2 separate regions of the Homo sapiens genome follow, and region 1 is linked to region 2. The links are contacts of gene promoters, found by promoter capture Hi-C in blood cells and fetal thymus (Javierre and others, 2016). All regions are on one chromosome and are shown on one strand. The core of a region is centred on a gene start or on the middle of the fragment in contact, and the rest is flanking DNA. Distances in the headings are between cores, read along the strand shown. Region 1 overlaps ARHGEF40 (Rho guanine nucleotide exchange factor 40). Region 2 holds the start of RNASE1 (ribonuclease A family member 1, pancreatic).

Evidence for each region. The method cuts DNA at HindIII sites, captures the fragments that hold promoters and counts their contacts. A CHiCAGO score of 5 or more calls a contact.
Region 1: a fragment that was not itself captured here is called in contact with the fragment with the promoter of RNASE1 in region 2 in 1 of 17 cell types (monocytes); the score reaches 5.1 in monocytes.

What each region holds. Positions count from the first base shown.
Region 1 is chr14:21,072,529-21,079,262 of GRCh38, reverse strand. ARHGEF40 (Rho guanine nucleotide exchange factor 40) reads right to left here. Exons shown (of 24, transcript NM_018071.5): 2 at 6,021-6,218; 3 at 4,083-5,331; 4 at 3,764-3,931; 5 at 3,498-3,618; 6 at 2,807-2,903; 7 at 2,620-2,700; 8 at 2,373-2,489; 9 at 991-1,086; 10 at 775-890; 11 at 253-379. Among named protein-coding and RNA genes, the nearest start is that of ARHGEF40, 5.6 kb to the right of the region's middle. The HindIII fragment of the contact is 1,623 bases long and covers 4,263-5,885 here.
Region 2 is chr14:20,798,194-20,804,528 of GRCh38, reverse strand. RNASE1 (ribonuclease A family member 1, pancreatic) reads left to right here and starts at 1,685. Exons shown (of 2, transcript NM_002933.5): 1 at 1,685-1,732; 2 at 2,436-3,301. The coding sequence starts at 2,461. The coding sequence ends at 2,931. The region is part of intron 3 of LOC105370397 (a long non-coding RNA gene); the gene reads right to left. It overlaps LOC107984671 (a long non-coding RNA gene), which reads left to right and starts at 4,000. Exons shown (of 3, transcript XR_001750624.2): 1 at 4,000-4,625. The HindIII fragment of the contact is 7,079 bases long and covers 1-4,546 here.

The DNA of each region.
Region 1 (6,734 bases), core at 3,825-6,324, 270 kb before region 2:
CTCTCACAATCTCTCAGCATTTTCGATCAAGTGTAAACAGTGGGGAGGGGAAGATCTGGCTTTTCTTTACTGGTGCTATGATGCTCCCACCCTCTTGTTCAATCTCACACTGACCAACAAATGTGAGGAGGAGGGAGGGGCGTTCAACCAAGCCAGGCTAGAAGAACACCATCAACTATAAGTACCAACGGGAAAGGTGCTGGAGGCCACACTCCCAGGCTGAGTAAGAGGGACGTGGGGATCCTGGCTCACCTGCTGGAGTCGCCGCAGGCACTGCCGCTGCTCTTGCTGCTGCACGTGCAGGTTGGAGAGGCGCACAAGCTGGTGAATGGCCTCGTCCACTTCCTGATACAGTGTAGCTGGGCCTTGGCCCTCCAGCCTTGGGAAGGAGCAGAGAAGAATGAATCATTTCCCTTGTTGAGCCCCTCAATTCTGTCCTTCCGTGCCTCTGAGGGATGCAAACATGAGAGGTTGCATAGCAGCATGGATCAAAAGCATGGGCTGAACCCTGACTGCTTTGGTTTGAATCCTGACTCTTTACTGACCGATGTTGGCCAAGACAGTTAACATTTCTGATCCTCCAAATCCTCATTTGTAATAGTAAATGGCACATAAGGATGTTGTGAGGGTTATGAGACAGTAAGTGTAAAAGCATAGTATCTTGCCCAGATACATGCACAGTAAGAATGGTCTGGCAGCTAAGGTTTGTTGGCAGCCTTCAGCTGTGTCTCCACCTCCCACTTCCACCTGCCTCCGCACACCCATACTTCGTACTTGCTGCTGGGAGTGGAGCGCAGCCTCATCAGGATGGCCCCCCCATCCCTCTGCAGTGCCGTCAGCCGGGGATCTGCCAGCACCTTCTGCAGTGGCTTGGGCATTCCCACTGCCTCCTGGGGATAGGGAGGAGTTGCCAGTTGGGGTTCCACCAGAGAGTCTCCACCCCAGCCCCATCCCAATCCCATCCCCCCACTGTCCCATCTCATTTCATACCTCTTCCTCTGGCTCTGCTGCTCCCTCCAGCTCCTCAATGGCCTGCCGTACCGAGCCCAGCACACCTTGGCACAGGCGACATAGCCTTACCACTTCCTGAAACCCACATGCAGGGATGGAGTTGAGGATCAGAGTTTAAGAAGGAACTTAAGCCCTAGGGTTGGGGTGCGGTAGCCCCAGAGACTTTTATGGAGGCAATGCTGAATTCAGTTCCTGACTTTGTTGCTAACTAATTGTATGAGGTTGGGCAGGTTCAGAAACCTTCCTGAACTTCAGTTCCTCAACTGTAAAGTCAGGATAAGAAAGGCTTCTGTGATTTTTAAGGAGATGATGCCAGTTTAGCAACTAACGTGGGCCTGGCACATTGTACAGCTTGGTAACTGTGACCTTCCTGTCTGTCTTCAGTGGGGCTTCCCCCTGTCACACCCCCTCTCTCTGCCTATTCATGTCAATTTCCCCTTTGACACTAAAGGCGAAGCTTAGAGACCATCTACAGACCCCTCTTTCATACTCAGCTCAGATCATGTTTATTTCTCTCTTCTTGAATACTCACAACACTTATATTCATAGAATTACATGAGATAAGTGCTGGAAGGACCTTTAGCAATTATATTGTGATTGTTATACTGCGCTGATGAGGATCCTGAGGCCTGGATGTTGGTGCAAGGAGCGGATACAGAAAGGGCACTATTTCTGCAAGTGAGGTAAAGTAATTTGGAACAAGAACCAGCCTTTTGACTCTCAGTGCTTTCCAGAAACCCAATGACACTATCTTGCACTCTTCTCTACTTGTTTCATGATTTATCTCCCACCAAAAATCATACACTACTTAATGTCATATTAAGAATTTATTTGGCTGGGCATAGTCACTCATGCCTGTAATCTTAGCACTTCGGGAGGCTGAGACGGGTGGATCACTGGAGTCCAGGAGTTTGAGACCAGCCTGGGCAACATGGCAAAACCCCGTCTCTACAAAAAAAAAAAAAAAAAAAATACAAAAACTAGGTGGGTGTGGTGGCACATGCCTGTAGCCACAGCTACTCAAGAGGTTGACATGGGAGGATCGCCTGAGTCCAGAGGGTCGAGGCTGCAGTAAGCTGTGATCGAAGCATTGCACTCCAGCCTGGGTGACAGAGTGAGACTGTCTAAAAATAATAATTATAATAATTTATCATACTCCTCCTATCTCCCCAGTAGAACATGGCACAGTGCACATGTTTTCCTCATGATTTGGGAGCCATAAATACTTGTTGAATTGAATGGAATGGAAACCACTTTTTTGCAACCTCATGGTATGTCCTGGACATGGCCTCTCTCCTAGAATGTCTTCAGCTGGGTTATTCCTGGCTCCCAGCATGCTAGGTGGTAGAGGGGAAGCTTACCTGGTGTATCTCTACCCAGTGACTGGGAGAGGGGTCCCTGTGACCTCCTAACTCCCACTGCAGCTCCTCTGGCTTGGCCACTCTTTTCAGATCATTCTCTGACAGCACCTCAGCACCCTGTAGAGGGTAAGGCAGGGGGTTTCTTCCTGGGCACCCAAGGACTCAGAAACCAGCCTGGGGCTCCAGCCAGCCTCTTCTCCTCTCCCCACTACTGATGGGAAACTAGATGGGAATGAAGGGCTCAAACCTGAAATCCACAGAGTTCAGTTGGAAGGTCATCATGAATGAGAATCAGCAGCCGCTGAACAAGGGGAGGATCTCCTGAGTCCTAAGGGCAGAAAAGAATAACCCTAAACTGGGCAATCGGGTGTCCTGGACTGGCCACTGGTGAAGAGTTAGGATCCAGGGGAACTGCCTGTTTGAGGGGTGGTTACCTGAAGTTGGCTCAAGGCAGGAATGAGTGCTGGAGGCAGTGGAGGTGCCTGACGAAGGTCCAGCAGGACGGACAGCCCCAGTGTCTGTAGATCAGGCCTGCGGGAGCAGGAAGAGCCAAGGAGGCTGCTGTGTGTGTGTTTTGGGGGATAGCAGATAAGGCAAGGCAGACATACGGGGTCTGTTTTTAGTTAATAGTCCTGAGGAGAAATTAGTTGCCGGTACATTTGGGAAGAAATGGGCAAAGGGCCAAATTCTGGGGTGTGTGTACAAGAGGAAGTCACCTAGCAGTCAGGGGTCTATATTCATATGGCTACTAGGTCAAGGGATTAAGGTCTGGAAAATTAAGAATTCTGTTCTGAAATGGCGTGCATTCAATATCAGCCTGTAGTATGGTGCCTAATAGGTACTCAGTGCTCAATAAATGTTTGTTGAATCAGTGAACCAATGTCCTGATGATCTTGGTAGGGTTGGAAGAGAGTGAAAGTCAACAGTGTTGCTTTTGAAGATCAGTGAAGATATGAAGCTGGAGGTCAGGGTAAGTAAGGCCAAAGGTCAATGGCTTGAAGTCTGAAGGTTGAAGAAGTAGGTGTCCTTAGAGGTCAGAAGGTCAGTGTCCTGAGAAGAAGGAGGTGAGGGTCCTCATGAATCAGGAGGTTAGTGTCCAGGGTGCCAGGACTGGGCCTCGGTTACCTGAGCAGTGAGTGGAGGTAATGAAGAGTTGTGTTCAGCGTGTCTCGGGAGGGTGGGGGCTCCTCAGGAGGGCACGGTGGGGTAATGGTCAGCAGAGCTCGCCCACTCTGGTCCACCCCTCCTGAAGACACAAAATGGCCAGGCTGTCCTGGCTGGGAGCAGTCCATGCCTACCTCCTTTCCACCCTGCCTCCCCCAGTCCCCAAGCCCACCCAATTGCTTCTCTTTCCCAGTCCTGTTTCCCTTCACCCACTGATGCCCACTGACCCGTCAGGATGAGGAATCCAGATGCCATCAAGTCCCAAGCTACATCAGGGTGATCAGAGACGGAGACTGCAAGGGCCTCTTCTGGAATGTTGTCCCCTTTTCCTTCCTGCACAGTCTCCAGCGGAGGTGTTGGAGTGTCAGACAGGGGGCCTTCTGGGCCTGTGTGTCCTGCACAGACACAGACAGAAACATGGGACTGAAGTTAAGATGGTTCTGGTTGTTCTGCTCCCAGCCTAACCCTGCTCCTCCTCCTGCCCCCTCCCATAGGCCCGACCTGCTTTGGCCCTTGCCCCATGAGCCTCACTCCGTGTCATCTCACCTGCCATACACAGCAGGCCTGGCCCCTCCAGCTCTCTCTCTCCGGCCCCCTCTTCTGTAGGCCCACAGGCTTCAGAGAGCTGAGGCTCTTTCTCGCCTGCTGTTTTGAGCTCTTTTGGCTCAGATTCTGGCTTCCCTGAGCCTTCATATTCCTCCTTAACCAGGTGGCATTCTGGAAGCTTGTGCTCACTTGGTGAGGGCAGATTGCCAAGGGCTTCTTGGTGGCTGGCATCTTCCTTGTCCCCAGGGCTCAGTGGGGCACTGTCCCCTCCTCGGCTAAGAGCCCCTCGACCTGCAGCTCGCTTCTTTCTTCTGTTTCCTTTGCCTGTTCTCCGAGGGGTACCAGGTGGTCCTTCAGCCCCCTGGCCTCCTCCTCCTCCTCCTCTAAGCTCCCCTGGCCTCAGGGGGCAAGATCCGGAGGCTTCTCCCACAGCCTCTGCTGGGGGCTCAGACACCTCCAAGACTGCTGCCTCTGGGACAGCCTCAGCTCCTGGGGGAGACTCAGGGGAGGCTCCGGTGCTGCTCCCCTCGCCGGGTGGGCGTGCTCCATCCTGGCCCCGAGGCCCCAGGCCCTTCTGGTGCATCCACGCCCGGTGTCTCCGGTGGCGGCCCTTCCCTCCAGCGCCCTTGCGGGTGGGTACCGTCCGGACTCTGGAGAGGCCTGGGGAGCCTTCAGCATCTGTTGGGCTCCCCCTCACGGGCAGCGTCACCTCTAACAGCTCCACATACTCGCCCTCAGGTCCTTCCACAGGGGCATTGTGCCCATCCCCAGGACTCCGGGTACCCAGCGCCTCCTCAGGAAGTGGAGGGCTGGGAAGCCCTGGAGGTCCAGAGGGCAGTTCTGGGGGCAGTGTACTTGGCTGATGTCCAACCATGAGGCCCTCTTTGTGCACAAATCGTGGACAGATGAGCTCAGCCCAGGGCAGCCGCTGAATCCCAGAGGGCGCAGACAGTAGGCAGGTACTGAGGCGACCTGTTGGCCGGTCCTTGTTGATGCCTTGTAGCCACTCAGGTGTGAATAGGTAGGCACAAGCCTCATTGGGCACAGGAACCTCCTGCACCCGCCCACCCCCAGGGGCCAGACACTTGAGTGCTAGTCGGGGTGCTTGGGCAGCTGAGGGCACCACCTGCAGATAGAAGTCTCCTGGGCGCAGCAGTTGCCAGGGTAGGGCTGCTAGCTGCACCACCACCTGTTCATGCAGGCAGAGCGGCCACCCCTCATGGAAGAAGAGGAATCCACTGTATTGGGCCTGGGGAGAGAGGTGGGAGGCTGCACTCAGGCCTCTGCTGAAGAAACCAGCAGGAGAGGGCAGTTAGAATGGGCCCACCCTAGGCAGGACCAGCCTTATGCCTGGAAGGTTATACTCTCAGGAGAGCAGGAGGGGAGATTTGGGGTATTCAGGTGGCAGAGAGGAAGGGATTGGGACTGATCGGTCTCCCAGTAGTAGGAAGATTCTTCAGGAAGCTAGTTCCATGTGTGGGAGGGTAAGAACTGAATCGTTACCAAGACATGGTCAGCAGATGCCATTGTCTTGGAGAAGCTAAAGACTCTTAGGAGTCTTTATATCTGTAGAAATGAATGATCTCTGTTGACTAATGTACGGGGGAGTTAGTGTCTTGAGAAATTCATATGAGGGGGAGAAGATGTCTGGAATTGGGTCTGGAGAGTTAGGGTCTTTGGGGGTCAGTATTGGGGTCAAGATGAATTTGGGGAAGATGAATGTGTGTGTGTGTGTGTGTGTTAGCATCTGAATGGTCAGTGCCTGTGAAGGTCAAAGTTTGTGAGAGGTCAGAGAATGAAGCTTAAGTGATTCTGGAGAGATCGGTTTCAAGGGAGGCTGTATCTCTAGGTTAGTGGGGGCATTAGTCAGCCTGGCTAGTCTGTAGAGTGTGGCAGTGGATCTTGGGGAAGGCAGAATAGTGATGCACGGCCACTCACACAGGCTTCCTGCTGGACCTTGGCAAGCAGGTGCTTGGCTGGTACCAGGAAGTCCAGCGTGTACCTCAGTGCGTCCTCCCGATAAGTCCTCTCCACCACCTGGAACACCTGGCCCAACAGGGTGGGGGCTGTTGCCTCAAAGGGTGGATACAGGGCGGCGAGAGTGCTCTGCACACAGTCCTCCACTGGCTCAGGCTCCTGTAGAGATAGGACCAGGCTACAGATCCCTAGAGATCACCCAATCATGGCTCCTTGGGAGCTGCACTGGTCTGGGGTTGGCTGTGTTCTCCAAAGCCCCGATTGTACAATGTGGGCAAAAAGTGAGCACTCAGGAAATGCTGGCTGATGAGCCCAGAACAGGAGTGGGGCTGGGCCAGAGTGCACAAACCTGGCAGGGCGCTCAACACTCCCGCTCTGAGACCTTGGCTTTGGAGATCCAGGGAGAATTTGTTGTGAATGCCCCTGATCAGGGCTGTTCCGGGTGCTCGTGAGTTGGGGTGATTGCATAGATCTTTCCCAGGAGAGAAAAGACAGGCTTCTGGGCTATCAGGGGACTGAGCTTATGGCTGAGAACTCGAGGGGATGAGGGAGATTTCCACACAGCCATCCTGCAAATCCCTTCCCATAAGACCCACCATCCAGGGCTCCCCATCTTAGGTGGAGGTGCCATCACCCACAATTATGTCCCAGAGATGATCATTTGGTGAAAGAGAG
Region 2 (6,335 bases), core at 436-2,935:
TATGCATAAATAGACAAAATGGCTTCCTGTAGTTTCAGGATTCCTAGGGCCAGGGGCTGTTGAAGAGCCTTATTATAGTTACAGAAGATCTGTTCACATCTGAACTGTGGTTCTGAAATCATCTTGCTGGGTGGAGGCCACTTTTGTGCAGCCACGCCCAGTGCCTTAGTGGGGTCCACCTGACTAACCAAACCATCCCACCAGGCGCCCTTCAGGTGAGTCCTGTGCCTTATTTATGTCTGTATCCCACAGTCTAATGAATGAATGAACACATTCTAACTTGACTATTCAAGAGAATAAAAGTATTATTAAAGACTCAGAAAAATAAAATACAGGTGGGGGCTGGGGGAGTAAGGAAACTGTAGGGGCCAAGGAAAAATTCCCCTTTCACCCTCCAAAGGTTTGCTGAAAATCAACTGACAAAAGACAGATTGATAGGAAAAAACGCATACAAATTGATTTGATCGTAGTTTTACACGACACGGGAGCCTTCAGAAGACCCAAAGATAACAGGGGAAAGTGGGCATTCTTACACTTGGATATCAACAAAGTATGAACAGCTGTGTAGAAATATGACTGGACAACAGGGCGATCTAATGAAAATAGACTGAGTGGGGAAACCCAGCAAGGCCTCCCTGTCTAGATTCTTCTTGGCCTCTCTGAGCATTCGTCCTTTTTTTCTGGGTATGGGGGGCAGGACCCTCTCTGGAATGAGGATCTTACGACCTACAATCACACAAGGTAGGTCAGATAATTTCACTATGGCCACTTTTTACACAGAAAGGCTGAAACAATCTGAATACACAGCACGAAGGGATATTTTGATAATTCTTAGAGGTATCCAAATTGTTACTCAGCAAAAAAACAGGTCTCTTTCTAGGAGGGCATTCTGCTGCTAATAAATATGATATTCTTTGTATTTTTTCCCCAAAAAGAATTTGAGATTTGGGATTTAAGTTTATCTTTAGTTCCTCTACTCAATTCCGACCTACAGGGTCAGTGGTTACTGTAGATAAGAACAGCCCCATCCTCTCGATGCCCCCAGAGCAGGGGTGGAGGGTGGGTGGGAAGTGGCCAGAACTGGGTGAGCGCACCCTAGAGGCCTCCTCCTCCTCCCTATTCAGTTACTCCCCCTTTCTTCTCCAGATCTGGGAAGCCTTCCAGCTGGGGGCAGCAGGACAGCCTCCATTCCCCCCGACCCCGCCTCCCATCCCCGGGAGAGGTAGCGTTGGGAGAATGCCCTCCTAGAAAGAGACTTGGGTTTTGCTCCCTAGGAGCCCTGGAATAGCTTTGGCCAGAATTCCCTATCTCCCATTAGAACCTCTCCTTTGCGTCCTTTGTTAACCTCCAAGTCTACTTGGTGAAAACGCCCACGAAGAAGTAACAAGGACTTTGTTCCTAGTGTGCCAGGTTTGGGCACCAGTGCTGTAGTGGCTTTCTCTGCTGCTCCTTGTGCATCAGCAGACAGATGTGGTTCACATAGGAAGAAAGACTAACGTAGGCAAAGATTTGCTCTTTCTTCAGCAGCCCTAGAAAGACGGCGGCCTGGGTGATTCACCACTCCTTCCTCACGTCCTTGATTTTATTTGAACTGAGCTCCAGATGCTCCTCCCACCCTTTTCCTCTTGGAAGCCAAACCCCTTTGTAATCTGTATAAGGTCCACACCCCGGGAGCTGAGTGATTGCAGAAACTGGCCTTCCATCTCTCTCAGACACCAAGCTGCAGATCCAGGTAAGCAGCCCAAGAGGTGTTCTCAGGTGCCGCTTCTGCTTCAGGGTTGCAGAAGAGGGAGCTAGGGCCAGTCCACAGCACTGAGAAAGATTGGGTGATGCTAGCGCTGAAAAAATGTGGCCCAGGCAAACATCAGCTGGGGGCAGAGGGGTCAGGGTGGAACGTGCAGGCTGCAGAGCATCCATGGGACTGGAGAAGAAGGAGCCTCCAAATTGGGGGAGGCCAGCGTTTCTCTCTGGAATACAATGGAATCTTTTATGATGCCAGTGTCAGGCACTGGCCTGAGTTCCCTTATGCTCCAAGACAACAAGGCTCTGTCACCCATGGCCCTGGATGTCGGGGATACAATTTGGTTCATGATTTATTCAAACTGATGTTTCGATGAGCCATTTGAGCACTGGGTACAAATGTATTTTGGATCAAAGAAACTCCAGTATTCAAAGATAGGAACTGACAGGATTTTAGGTCACTTTGTAGGTCACCACCTAGAGGGGAGGAAGACCTCGCTTTGGAGAGTGGGAATAAAACGCTCGTGGAAAAGGGTACACGTGAGTGTCTCATTACACGAAAAACCTCAGGAAGTAGGATGGACGTCTTTCTGGCTGACCTGAAACAGAAAGTGTAAACCAGGCAAGCCATAGGTGGGAGCTGGAGTTCTTTTTCTAAGAGGGCTCTTTTCCTTCTCTCTCCTTTTCTCAATTAGGCTTTTCTGGGAAAGTGAGGCCACCATGGCTCTGGAGAAGTCTCTTGTCCGGCTCCTTCTGCTTGTCCTGATACTGCTGGTGCTGGGCTGGGTCCAGCCTTCCCTGGGCAAGGAATCCCGGGCCAAGAAATTCCAGCGGCAGCATATGGACTCAGACAGTTCCCCCAGCAGCAGCTCCACCTACTGTAACCAAATGATGAGGCGCCGGAATATGACACAGGGGCGGTGCAAACCAGTGAACACCTTTGTGCACGAGCCCCTGGTAGATGTCCAGAATGTCTGTTTCCAGGAAAAGGTCACCTGCAAGAACGGGCAGGGCAACTGCTACAAGAGCAACTCCAGCATGCACATCACAGACTGCCGCCTGACAAACGGCTCCAGGTACCCCAACTGTGCATACCGGACCAGCCCGAAGGAGAGACACATCATTGTGGCCTGTGAAGGGAGCCCATATGTGCCAGTCCACTTTGATGCTTCTGTGGAGGACTCTACCTAAGGTCAGAGCAGCGAGATACCCCACCTCCCTCAACCTCATCCTCTCCACAGCTGCCTCTTCCCTCTTCCTTCCCTGCTGTGAAAGAAGTAACTACAGTTAGGGCTCCTATTCAACACACACATGCTTCCCTTTCCTGAGTCCCATCCCTGCGTGATTTTGGGGGTGAAGAGTGGGTTGTGAGGTGGGCCCCATGTTAACCCCTCCACTCTTTCTTTCAATAAAACGCAGTTGCAAACACCTGATTTCTGAAGCGGTTCTGTCTAGGTACTGTTTCTGGCATTGCCTTCCAGCAAGGGGTAAGAACTGTAAATCTGATTCACTTTGGAGAACGGTGAATGGAGTAATTAAATGCCTTCCCTTCTGACTTGGATTTTAGTGGCTTGAGAAAATTCCTTTCCTTGTAGATTCCCTGATGCCAAACATAAAACTGTTAAGTGTGGGCTGTTTTAGACAAAAGGGAGCTACAGCCTGGGACACTGCCATGCAGGGTGAACTGACAGAGGGGTGAAGCTCAAATACAATCATTCTCTGGCACAGAAGGAAGGCAAGTGTGACCTCAGGAAGATCCTGCTTAGCCTCAGGGTGGGGAAGAGGACTCAATGAAATTATGATCCTAAATTTCCATTTTCCTTTTTTTTTTTTGAGTGAGCTATTACTAAATCAGAAAAATGGGCACCTCTTAGTTGGAAAGCCAGAACCTTACATTTTAGAGCCAGAAGTGACTTTGGAGAGCACGGAATTGAGGGATAGCAAGTAGATTTCAGTTTGTGTACCAACTCTAATTGGAAGTGCCGGTCGGGCGTGGTGGCTCACACCTATAATTCCAGCACTTTGGGAGGTTGAGGCAGGTGGATCACCTGAGGTCAGGAGTTCAAGACCAGCCTGACCAGTATGGTGAAACCCCCTCTCTACTAAAAATACAAAAAGTAGTGGGGCGTGGTGGCAGGTGCCTGTAATCCAGCTACTAGGGAGGCTGAGGCAGGAGAATCACTTGAACCTGGGAGGCGGAGGTTGCAGTGAGCTGAGATGGTGCCACTTCACTCCAGCCTGGGCAATAAGAGTGAAACTCTGTTTCAAAAAAAAAAAAAAGGAAGTGCCTACCCAAAATGCTGTAGCAAAAAATTCTGGACAGTGGTGTGGTTGAACAACAGCCTCTATCGAAGGCACGAGAGGGGGAAGGGTGTGTGTGCCACACATTTGCCATCCCTGACCAAATGTGACCCCTGCCTTTCCGGTGACTTGCACATGGCTTGTTGCTAGTTAGTGGCACAGCCGGGACTACACCCTAGGTTTCCTGACTTCCAAGCCATTGTTCTAACTCAGGAAGCCATTGCTCTAACTCAGGAAGAAAGCTCCCCTCCTCAGTAAGTGCTGTGGAGCGGTAGCTCTCTCCCAGAGCTTGCTGGTGGGCTCTCACAGGCTCCCAGTGTTCTTAGCCTGTGAGTCCACTCCACTCTTGGCAACCCTTCCTGACAGCCACTGAAAGACTACCTTTGGCATCTGTCAACACTTAACCTGGGAGGCAGAGGTTGCAGTGAGCCGACATCGCGCCACTGCATTCCAGCCTGAGTGACAGAGCAAGATTCCATCTCACAGGGTGGGGGGTGGGGAAGCTTGCCATATAAAGAATACTTTCTGCAGGGCCTGTGCGGAGATCCACTGTCTTGTGGCTGCCTGAGACATGGCTTCTATTTGTAAGTCCCTATTAAATGTTTCTTTCTGAGAAACTGAACTTGTCATGAAGTGGGATTTAAGGAACCAGAGAGACCAGATGGCGTGCAGGAGGGTGTTTATTTTAAGGTGTACACTGGCCCAGCGGACTTGTGTCCTAAAAGGCTGAGCCCAAGAACAAAGAAAATGAGTCCCTTTTAAGCATTTTGAGGCAGGAACTAAGTGAAGCAGGCTTACAGAAGTGAGAACAAAAGGCCGCTGTGACACTTTTGGAACATGTCTTACATCTCTGTGAGAACTTGGTTTGCAGCTTATGCTTATCTGTCTTGTGACCTTGCAGCTGTGCAGGGAAGAAAGAAACAGGAGTTTACAGAGCCTACAAAATATGTGGAGGATAGATATGGTTAACGTTTCTTGGGACAGACAGTTAATATTCTCTTCTAACTTTAACTTCAGGGGGGCTACTTAAATTCTTTTCAGCCTTGGTTAATACAGCAATTCATTCTATGAGCTATTGTTATTTCTCTTATTATTATTACGTATGCTATTATTTGTTATTTTCTTAGTTTCCTACTTCAGTCAAGCCCTTTCTTTGGCCTCTCATCTCCCTCAGCCCTTGGGGGTACATTGGCATAGACCTGCTCACTGCAGAACAAGGAAGGAGGAAGCAGGAGAAACCAAACCTGCCATACCGTGTTCTTGAACTTCTGGCCTCCAGTGAGAAAATGAATTTCTGGCTGGGCATGCTGCCTCACGCCTGTAACCCCAGCACTTTGGGAGGCTGAGGCAGGAGGATTGCTTGAGCTCAGGAGTTCAAGAGCAGCCTGGGCAACATAGTGAGACCCCCGTCTCTACAAAAAAATATTAAAAAATTAGCCAGGCAAGGTTGCAAACACCTATAGTCCCAGCTACTCGGGAGGCTGAGATGGAGGATCACTTGAGCCTTGGGGGTCGAGGCTGCGCTCCAGCCTGGGCAACAATGAGACCCTGTCTCAAAATTTTAAAAAATAAATAAATAAATAAATGCATTTCTATCGTTTGAGCCGCCCATTTTGTTATGGCAGCCCTAGGAAATGAATACACCCTTTAACCAATTCTTCCACTTCTCTTGGATTGCATCCGTAGCTGCCCTGACACATCCCTATGGCGGGCTGGTCTAAATTAGATGCCACGGTGGTGGGGATGGGGTGGCTGTGGGGTGAATAGAAGTGTCTGTGGGGACAAATGAACATCTACTTCTTCCTGGGACAGCTGGATGGAGTGGAGGGACTTTAGAAACCGTTAACAGGTCTTAGGGAACTGGCCCTGCGTCCCTTCTGAGGCTGCTGTAAGGGGAAAAGAAAAAGTAGGGGCATGAAAGCCCTTGGCAAGATGTGAAGCGAGGCAGCCTTCGTGCATGCTTGGTCAGTTGTGTACCTCCAGCTAGTTAGTGTGCAACAGCCCTCACGCTTCCTCTGCAACTTCTCCCCTGCCATCAGCTGAGCTTTCATGTTCTCAGTTCATGTTCTCGGTTCATGAGTGTTCATGTTCTCAGTTACTCTTGGAATATGGTTCAATTCAGAAATTCCCAATGCACTATTAATGAACATAGAGAGACGGATATACTATTCTACCAAAAAAAAAATCTGCCCTTTTAAAATCCAGGGAATGTCTGGACATACACATTCTTAAGTCAAAGGAACATTTTTCTAGCATTTGTGAAAGAAGGAGTGAATGAATGGAGGTTGGAAGGA